Regions from separate parts of the Homo sapiens genome. Here region 2 is linked to region 1. Evidence: promoter capture Hi-C in human tissues and cell types (Jung and others, 2019). All regions are on one chromosome and are shown on one strand. The core of a region is centred on a gene start or on the middle of the fragment in contact, and the rest is flanking DNA. Distances in the headings are between cores, read along the strand shown. Region 1 holds the start of SRSF12 (serine and arginine rich splicing factor 12). Region 2 holds the start of GABRR2 (gamma-aminobutyric acid type A receptor subunit rho2).

What was found. Contacts are between HindIII fragments. The study calls those that stand out against the background at their distance.
Region 2: a contact is called between the fragment with the promoter of GABRR2 here and the fragment with the promoter of SRSF12 in region 1, in 1 of the 25 tissues and cell types used here (adrenal gland).

The regions. Positions count from the first base shown.
Region 1 is chr6:89,115,561-89,119,976 of GRCh38, reverse strand. SRSF12 (serine and arginine rich splicing factor 12) reads left to right here and starts at 1,906. Exons shown (of 5, transcript NM_080743.5): 1 at 1,906-2,154. The coding sequence starts at 2,090. It also overlaps a transcript of PM20D2 not described here. RefSeq lists a silencer at 2,053-2,322. The HindIII fragment of the contact is 14,948 bases long and covers 1-4,416 here.
Region 2 is chr6:89,312,639-89,317,054 of GRCh38, reverse strand. GABRR2 (gamma-aminobutyric acid type A receptor subunit rho2) reads left to right here and starts at 1,756. Exons shown (of 9, transcript NM_002043.5): 1 at 1,756-2,002. The coding sequence starts at 1,890. The HindIII fragment of the contact is 18,857 bases long and covers 1-4,416 here.

The DNA of each region.
Region 1 (4,416 bases), core at 657-3,156:
CTTGGGTATGTCTTTATCAGCAGTGTGAAAACGGACTAATACAGTGGCTCACACCTGTAATCTCAACTTTGGGAGGCCAAGGCAGGAGGATCACTTGAGCCTAAGAGTTTGAAATCAGCCTAGGCAACATAGACTCCATCTAAAATAAAAAGAGAGAGAGACAGAGAAAGAGAGAGAGAAAGACAGGAGGCCATGTGAAGACAGAAGTGGAGACTGGATCTATGTATCCACAGCCAAAACATGTGTGGGGCCACCAAAGACTGGAAGAAACAGAGGATTCCCCTAGAGTGCCTTCAGATAGATGATGGCCCTGCGGACACCTGGATTTCAGACTTCTGGCCTCTGAACTACAAGAGAATAAATTTCTGTTGTTTCGGGCCACCAAATCTGTGGTGCTTTGTCATGGCAGCCCTAGCCAACTAACACATGGTAAGCATTCTAAGCTTTTGTATTATGAATCCAGCCTGCTCTCCAGCCTCATTTTCCAACTCTTCTCCAGCCTCATGCTCCTGTTTTGCCTCATTTACTATATTGCCTCAAAGCCTTTGCACGTGCTGTTCCACTGCACTAATTACTCTTCTCCATTCTTTACCCATCTCTTCAAGACTTGTTCAGGGAACATAAGTGACCCTCTAGCCTTGCTCACCATCCCACAATGCCTGCTCTCAGCAGCATATAGTTCTTTTCATAGCCCTGTATTATAGTTTGTATCTTTACCAGTGTGATTGTTAGATTCTGCCTCCCTACCAAATTCTAAGCTCTAGGGGAATAGGCACGGTGCCAGTCTAGCCCTGTGCCTGCAGTGCCAGAGCAATCCCTTCTGAATGAAAGAATAGCCACCGTTCCAGTACAGCTGCAGACCCAGGAACCTCCACAGCCTCTGGGAGGGCTGTGAGCTAGAAGGGTGACCACGACATGTATTCTTCAAAGCCTACCACTTCTGCGAGCGAAAAGGGGCACTCTTCACACTTAGGAGTTGCCTGGTTACACTCCCAGCCCTGAATAACAGGCTGTGCCTGCCGGCCACAGGAGCAAGGCGAAGACGAGTCTAACTAGAAGGGGATGGGCTACAACATTTTGGGGGAATAGGGAGAGGGTAATTTAAATTTTGCTTAACTGTCCCTGCATTTAAACTGTTGTCTTCTACATCATGTATTCATTTGTACATTCGTTTGTCCCCCCTCTAGAATGTAAGCTCAGAGGGCGGGGCTTGGCCTGTTTGTTCATTGCTATATCCCACGCTAAGTGCCTGGCGCATAGTAGACGCTCAATAAACATCTGAATGAATGTACTCACAGCTGAGTGTTATGCCCCAAGTGAATAAAGGATGAAGAATCATATAATACTTAAAAATCCAACAGGCCAGGCGCGGTGGCTCACACCTGTAATCCCAGCACTTTGGAAGGCCGAGGCGGGAGAGGCTTGAGCCCAGGAGTTTGAGACCACCTGGGCAACACAGCGAGACCCCGTCTCTATTAAAAAAACAAATCCGAACAAAACCGAGACCTCACAGTTGGAAAGCCGAAGGCTCAAGACCAGAGGGGCAGGAGGCCTACCAACTGCCAAGGTCCTGCGCTCAGGACGATGCGCTGAGGGCCGCGGAGGCTGAGCGGGGGCGCGGTTGAAAGCGGCTCTCACTGACCCCACCTCCGCCCAGCCGCAGCCCCGCCACCACCTCTGGGTCCTCTAACCCCCGGCGTCCCCGCCGCGGCCTCAAGCCCCCTCTTGGCCTCCGCCCTCCTGACATACACTGGCCCTCGCCGCCCCCTCCCCAAATCCCGTCGCACTCCAGGACCCCCCATACCCGGATCCCATAGGGCCTGGGAACGGCCGCGCTCCTGTCTTCGGAATTCCCGCGGCCCCTGGGCCGCGCCGGCGCCGCCCCCGCCCCCGGCCCGTGCGTCCAGGCTGGCGCCGCGCTGCGCCCCCTCTGCGCCGGCCTCTGCGGCTGCGCGCTGGCGGGGCTGAGGCCGAGGGGTGGGGGTCGCGCCGGGGGCCGGCGGAGCTCCTGTGGTGGTAGCAGCGGTAGCGGGAGACGGAGCGAGTCCAGCGGCCGCGGGCAGACCCGGAGGGAACGGAGGAAGCGGTCATGTCTCGCTACACGAGGCCCCCCAACACCTCCCTGTTCATCAGGAACGTCGCGGACGCCACCAGGTGAACGGCCGCGGCTGCAGGTTGGGGGCGCGGAGGAGGGGCGGGGTAACAGCCGCGCCGCGGAGCACGGCCGAGGCCCGGCGGAGGCTCGGGGGAGCTGCGCGGAGCCTCCCCGCGGGCCCAGGCTGCGCCACTTGGGGAGGTGTGAGCCCTCGGACTACTCCGCGGCCCAGGGCGGAACTCGCGCCTCCGCCCTCCCGGCCAGCTTTCAGCCCCGGCGCCGCGCACATCGTGTCCCGGGCCCGCGTCGCTTTCCGCGGTTCAGCACCGCAGCCGGCGGGCCGTGGGACACGGGGCGCCCCTCTCCCGAGCTCAGGTCGCTCCCCGCCGGGAGTCGGGAGGGTTTGCGCTCCAGCGAGTGCCCGCGTTTCAGCTCCTTTGTCGCCGTGCCCCGATAAAATCGCGCGCATCCAACCCTCCTAGATGGAGAGGAATTGGGGCTGGTGAGAACGTTTTGTACCATAATGCGTACTCGGGCCTTACAGTTTCTTTCCCCCAGTTCTGGTCTACTTACAGACGGTGCTGCTTGCATTTTATTCACACAATTTTATTCTGCATACAAAAAATAACTTCAATGAATGAGATCAGTGCGTTTTTCTTTAAAGTTCTGAGTCCAGTATTAACACCCTTTTTAAGGGCGTGAGTATAGGCTCACCTGGTTGATTCTGATGCCCCACCCCTCCGTTGAGAATTTTGTCTACAGAGTGTCTGAACACAGATACTAAGGAATGACTTTTTCATATAGCACTTCCTTCCTTAATGGAGCTGAAGAAATTGGGGGCGGGGGGAGAGGGAACGGTGTTAATAGACATTCTCATTTCACTGGGCTTCATTTACTTCCCCCCAGCCTTTCTACCTATGCAGTACTGTTTTATTGTACATAAGGGAGAGCGGAAACTAAGAGTTTTAATGATTTACCTGGGGCCAGAGAGGTATAGATACATGGAGCTCTTGACTCCATAGTCATCTGAGATGAGTATTATAATTTACCTTTGAGGAGTAAATAAACGTTAAGTATTTTTTATTTTTTAGTTTTTTTTTTTTTTTTAGACAAAGTCTCGCTCTTGTCCCCCAGGCTGGAGTACAATGGCCCGATCTTGGTTGGCTGCAACCTCTGCCTCCCGGGTTCAAGCGATTCTCCTGCCTCAGCATCCAAAGTAGATGGGATTACAGGCGTGTGCCACCACACCCGGCTAATTTTTATATTTTTAGTAGAGATGAGGTTTCATTATGTTGGCCAGGCTGATCTCCAACTCCTGACCTCAAGTGATCCGCCCAGCTCGGCCTCCCAAAGCGCTGAGATTACAGGCATGAGCCACCGTGCCCGGCCAAGTATTTTTTATTTGATCACCGCAAGTACATGTATCACAACTATATGTTGTGGTTAATATATCTTAGTTAACATCTAAAAGGTGCCTTGTTTACATTTCTTCTGTCAGCCTTTTTATCAATATATTACATAGAAAACACGAACATAATTTATGATTTGGGCAGAATTAAAAAACCTTGCAGTTGAACAGACAACTTGAAAATGGAATAAGCATCAAGCCTCTTCAGGGTGTCTGTAGAAAAATCAGAGGTTTCCAATTCTAATGGTTCACAGGGGCCAGCCGGGGTAATATAAACGAGTGAAGCTGCCAGCCTATAAGGCACAGTAGGATGGTGTGGACTATCAAATAGAAATAGAATAGCAAATAGAAAAGGAAATATGCCATCTAAAAGGTGCAGCATCTGCCTCTAGGCTCCAGCTGACAGCTGCCATGTAGACATCTGGACTTATTGTTGATATATCTTACTAGTTGTAAAGAGAAATCAGAAATCTGGATTTTGTATGTGTAATCTTAGTCTTTAGATGCATTAAGTTGAATCATATGAAAATCCCATTCGTGGCCGGGTGCGGTGGCTCATGCCTGTAATCACAGCACTTTGGGAGGCTGAGGCAGGCGGATCACGAGGTCAGGAGATGGAAACCATCCTGGCTAGCACGATGAAACCCCGTCTCTACTAAAAATAAAAAAATTAGACGGGCGTGGTGGCGGGTGCCTGTAGTCCCAGCTGCTCAGGAGGCTGAGGCAGGATAATGGTGTGAACCCGGGAGGCGGAGCTTGCAGTGAGCCAACATCGCGCCACTGCACTCCAGCCTGGGAGACAGAGCGAGGACTCCGTCTCAAAAAAAAAAAAAAAAAAAAAAGAAAGAAAAAAGAAAACCCCATTTGTAGATTTGAAAGCTGTAAAATATAAGGCTGGGCGCGGTGGCTCACG
Region 2 (4,416 bases), core at 507-3,006, 200 kb before region 1:
TGGGTCCATTCATCCTCCCTAATGATTTACTGTCCCTCAAAAGAATTGCCTACATCCCCCATCTCTTCCTTATGAAAAAGGGTATATAAATGTCTGTACCATGCTGGGTAATTGGGTAATCATGATGTGATTTTCCTCCATGCATGTTAATAAATCTGTATGCCTTTTCCCCTATTAATCTTCCTTTTGTCAGTTGATTTTTTGGTGATCCTCCATGGGGCAAAGGGAAAACTTTCACTTGGTCTCTACAGCTCCAGATCTATTTCTATAGTCTAGAAATAGAACTAGACTTTCTCCTGAACTCCAGGCTCATGCTCTAGCTTTTTTTTTTTTTTTTTTTTTTTTGGAGACGGAGTCATGCTCTGTCGCCCAGGCTGGAGTGCAGTGGTGTGATCTTGGCTCACTGCAGCCTCTGCCTCCCAGGTTCAAGTGATTCTCCTGCCTCAGCCTCCTGAATAGCTGGGATTAACAGGCACGTACCACCACACCTGGCTAATTTTTGTATTTTTAGTAGAAATGGGGTTTCACCACGTTGGCCAGGCTGGTCTTGAACTTCTGACCTCAGGTAATCCACCTGCCTCTGCCAAAGTGCTGGGATTACAAGTGTGAGCCACCGTAGAATTCTTGATATTATTGTTGACTTTTCTGTCTCTCACCTTCTACTCTATCTGCACAGGCACCAAATGTATGCTACCGCAGAACTAACTTGAGTATCTCACTCTTCTGTCTTCCTTTCTCTTCTTCCTTCTTCGCTTCCCTCAGAGCAGGACCTTATTCTCTTTTGTCATCATAAGTTCCCTGATTCGACTGATCCCAATTAGGAATTATTTCAAAAATAAAGTAGATCATGCCATCTCACTTTGCTTAAGGGAATCAAAGAGCTTCTTTTGATTCTGTCATTTATACATAGTAAAATCCCAATTCTGTTTCACTTACGGCTATCCCACCTCCTGATCTCTGTCCTCATCTCCCTATGTTTCTACCATGAAATTTTCCATTGCCAGGACATAGCAAGCAATGAGTAGTTTTTAAACATATTCTATTTTGTTCAGTAGGTTAGACATAACCACATGTATCTCTACAATTCTAATGTGCTTAATTCCATATCCCAGGATAGGAATAAAGCCTAATTTATGATTGATTTTATACATTTTAGGGTTAAAGGCCAAAGTTAATTTAATGCTTATGGTAGGAAGAAAAGCTTACATAATCATGAATTCTATGATTAATGTCATCCTTGAAACTAAAAATGTATTTTATGCTTTGATGTTTTCACTGGAAAAAGTTGATCTATATTTGTGAGAAAGGAAGTATCCTTGCTCATAGGCAAAGCATATTCTCTTAGCTCCATAAATAAATCAACCCTAAGGAAACAGGTCATTCATGTTTACTCAGCATTTCCTGAACACATTTATGTACCCATCTAAATGTCCACCAAGTCCTCTCTGCAAATCTACTTGGAATCCGAGCTGACCCCCTGGTGGATGGGACAGACTGGTTTTATGCAGCCAGAAGATGGACCAATAATCTCAGCACAAAGCTGGCATGTTCAAGAGATTTAATTTTTTATATAACAGCTTTAGCCAAAGCTATTCTAGGATTCAGTGGAAGCAGAATTTCATGAGGACAAACTTCTCGACTAATGGCCAATCACTAATCAGCAGGGAGGGCAAAGCCTGGTGTTTGTGTCATGGCCCGGAGTGGAGGGGGTGAGTGGGGCGTCAGTATCAAATAGTAAATCGGGACAACTAGCCTGGCCAGCCTTGCCCTCACAGCCCCTCAGAGCAGCCCGTCAGGAGGCAGCAGATGGATCAATGGTCAAGCCAGGGGGGATTTGCTCTGCCACAGGCTACTGGAAAGCAGCTTTTTGCCTCACAGATGTCCACAAAATGCCTTATTTTACAAGACTCATTTTGTTCTTGTTTTGCTTGATGGTTCTCGTGGAGAGCAGAAAACCCAAGAGGAAGCGATGGACAGGGCAGGTGGAAATGCCCAAGCCAAGGTAAAGTCATAGGTGGGAAAGGAGGGAGGTTACCCTGCATAGTAGCAGCAGCAGTGGCACAGTGGGATGGCTCCCCAGGGGGCTAAGGTCCTATTGAGATATCGCCCTATGAGAATGAGAACCCAGCTACTTCACTGAACGCAGCCTCTCCCTGGGCACACATACTCTATGTGTCACAAGCATTGAGAGCAGAACTAGACTGGGATGAGCCTTCCTTCGGATGCCTGCGTTCAGCCAAAGCATTTTGATTTGAGGCAGATATAAATAGTTGGAGACGTAGTGGGTAAAATCATTCTCTGTACAAATCACATTGTGCTGCTTTGTTTCTCAGGGTTACAACCGATGACCTGCTAAATAATTACACTCAAGTATTTTGGGGAGAACTGTATATAGGAACCTAGCCTGAACTATTAAGAAAAAAATGCATACGGGAGTTGTCTTCCTTAAATTATTTGCCAGAGAATAACTTTATAATGATATTGGGTTTCATTTTACTGTTTTGAATCTTAGAAGAGGTGTTCAGAAATTTGCTTAATTATCAGAAATATATGTGTGAACAACAGTGAATGCAATTTCATGATGTAATGGAGACATTCCCAAGAAATAATAGCCCAGGATCTGCATTCAAAATCATTACATTACAAATCTAAGTTCCTTAGGAAGTTTATTTTGAATTGACATACGAAGCATCATACTCCAGGCCTGAAGTAGACATAAGGACTGTTAGACATGGAGATAAGAAAAGAACAAGCAGCTAAGATATAAACACCATGTGTGGCATGTTACACATTTATTTTCCATTCTACTAAGCATCAGATAAACTAGTGGTTTTGAATATAAATTAATATCTTGAGGCACATTTTCTAGGTCAGTCCCCAAACATTTTTGAACATGCGCTGCTGTCAATGACAAGTTTTTGAAACTGTACCTCTAATACATGCATATTTACTTACAAATCACATACATGTGCTGTTATAAATATGTATGTTAAAGTTTAATTGATTTCTTATTTTTAGAAAAAAAAAAAAAAAACCCTGAATATAAATAAGAGTTACAGCCTCTACTTCCAGTATCCCAGTGGCAACTGCTGCTCTGGGAGAGGTTATTACTCTCTTTTGTTTATTTGTTTGTTTGTTTTTTGAGATGGACTCTCTGTCACCCAGGCTGGAGTGCAGTGGCGCAATCTTGGCTCACTGCAACCTCCACCTCCCGGGTTCAAGCGATTCTCCTGCCTCAGCCTCCCGAGTAGCTGGGATTACAGGCGTGCACCAGCATGCCTGGCTAATTTTTGTATTTTTAGTAGAGACAGGGTTTCACCATGTTGGCCAGGCTGGTCTCAAACTTCTGACCTCAAGTGATCCACCCACCTTGGCCTCCCAAAGTGCTAGGATTACAGGCAGAAGCCACCACACCCAGCCTATAATTACTCTCTCTGGAGCCTAGTCCTACTCAGCGGAAGGCAAACAGATCAAAACCCTCAGAGGCCCTGCTCTGAACAACCCATGCGGGTTGGGTTGCCAGAACCATAGGCTGTTAAACTGGAAGGAGCCTCAGATGTCATCGGCCCAGCAAGTCCCCTGAACTCTAATTTTGGGAAACGTGAATGGCTGTTGAGTGAAATGGGGTTCCAGGGCCACCAAAACGTGGAAAACCCTGGTTTAGACCATTTTCAACAGATGTCTCTACAGCAGAACTTTTAGAACCTTTGTTATGCAAATAGGCACTGTGAGAATCTTGAAGAGAGGGATAAATTATGCAGGGCTTCTCAGAAACAACTAAAAAATCCACAGTTTTTTGGACTGTCTTGTGGGATTCCTACTCCATGGAGCACACACTGGGAAACTGTCCAAGTCAACTCATTTGACAGATGCTGAAATGGCTCAGGGGCATGAGTAAGTCACACGGCCTGCTAGTGGCTTCCCAACACTAGAATGTAGGTTCCTGATTTACTTAGACTGGAGGAAAATCTGTTCAAAACTGTCTATTCTGTAAGAACTGGGGTTCAGCACAAGTCCCTTGGGGTGCCCAGGGACCCCACTCAGCAGCCTGGGCTTGGCGGCACCTCCGTCTCACTTTTCCTCAGAAGTCCACAGTCTCATTCCCAAACCCGCGCATGAGCCTGGGCACAGCTGGGCTCTGACTCTTAGTGGGGAGGAGACTTTGTTGAAATCCAGCCCATGAGGTGTTAAAGTGGGAAAAGATGAACACATACATTTCAAGGAAGTAAAATATTTATTAAACTGAGGCTGGGGGAAAAGGACAGGGAATGTGGTTCTGGGCCTTTCTGCATCCATGAGAATGCACACACAGTCAGACAGTCAACAGGGTGACGCCTCCTTGTGAACATTTCAGCCAAGCCTCTGACAATTTATTTTTCCAAATTACTTTCATTATTGACACGCAGGTGTCAAGCT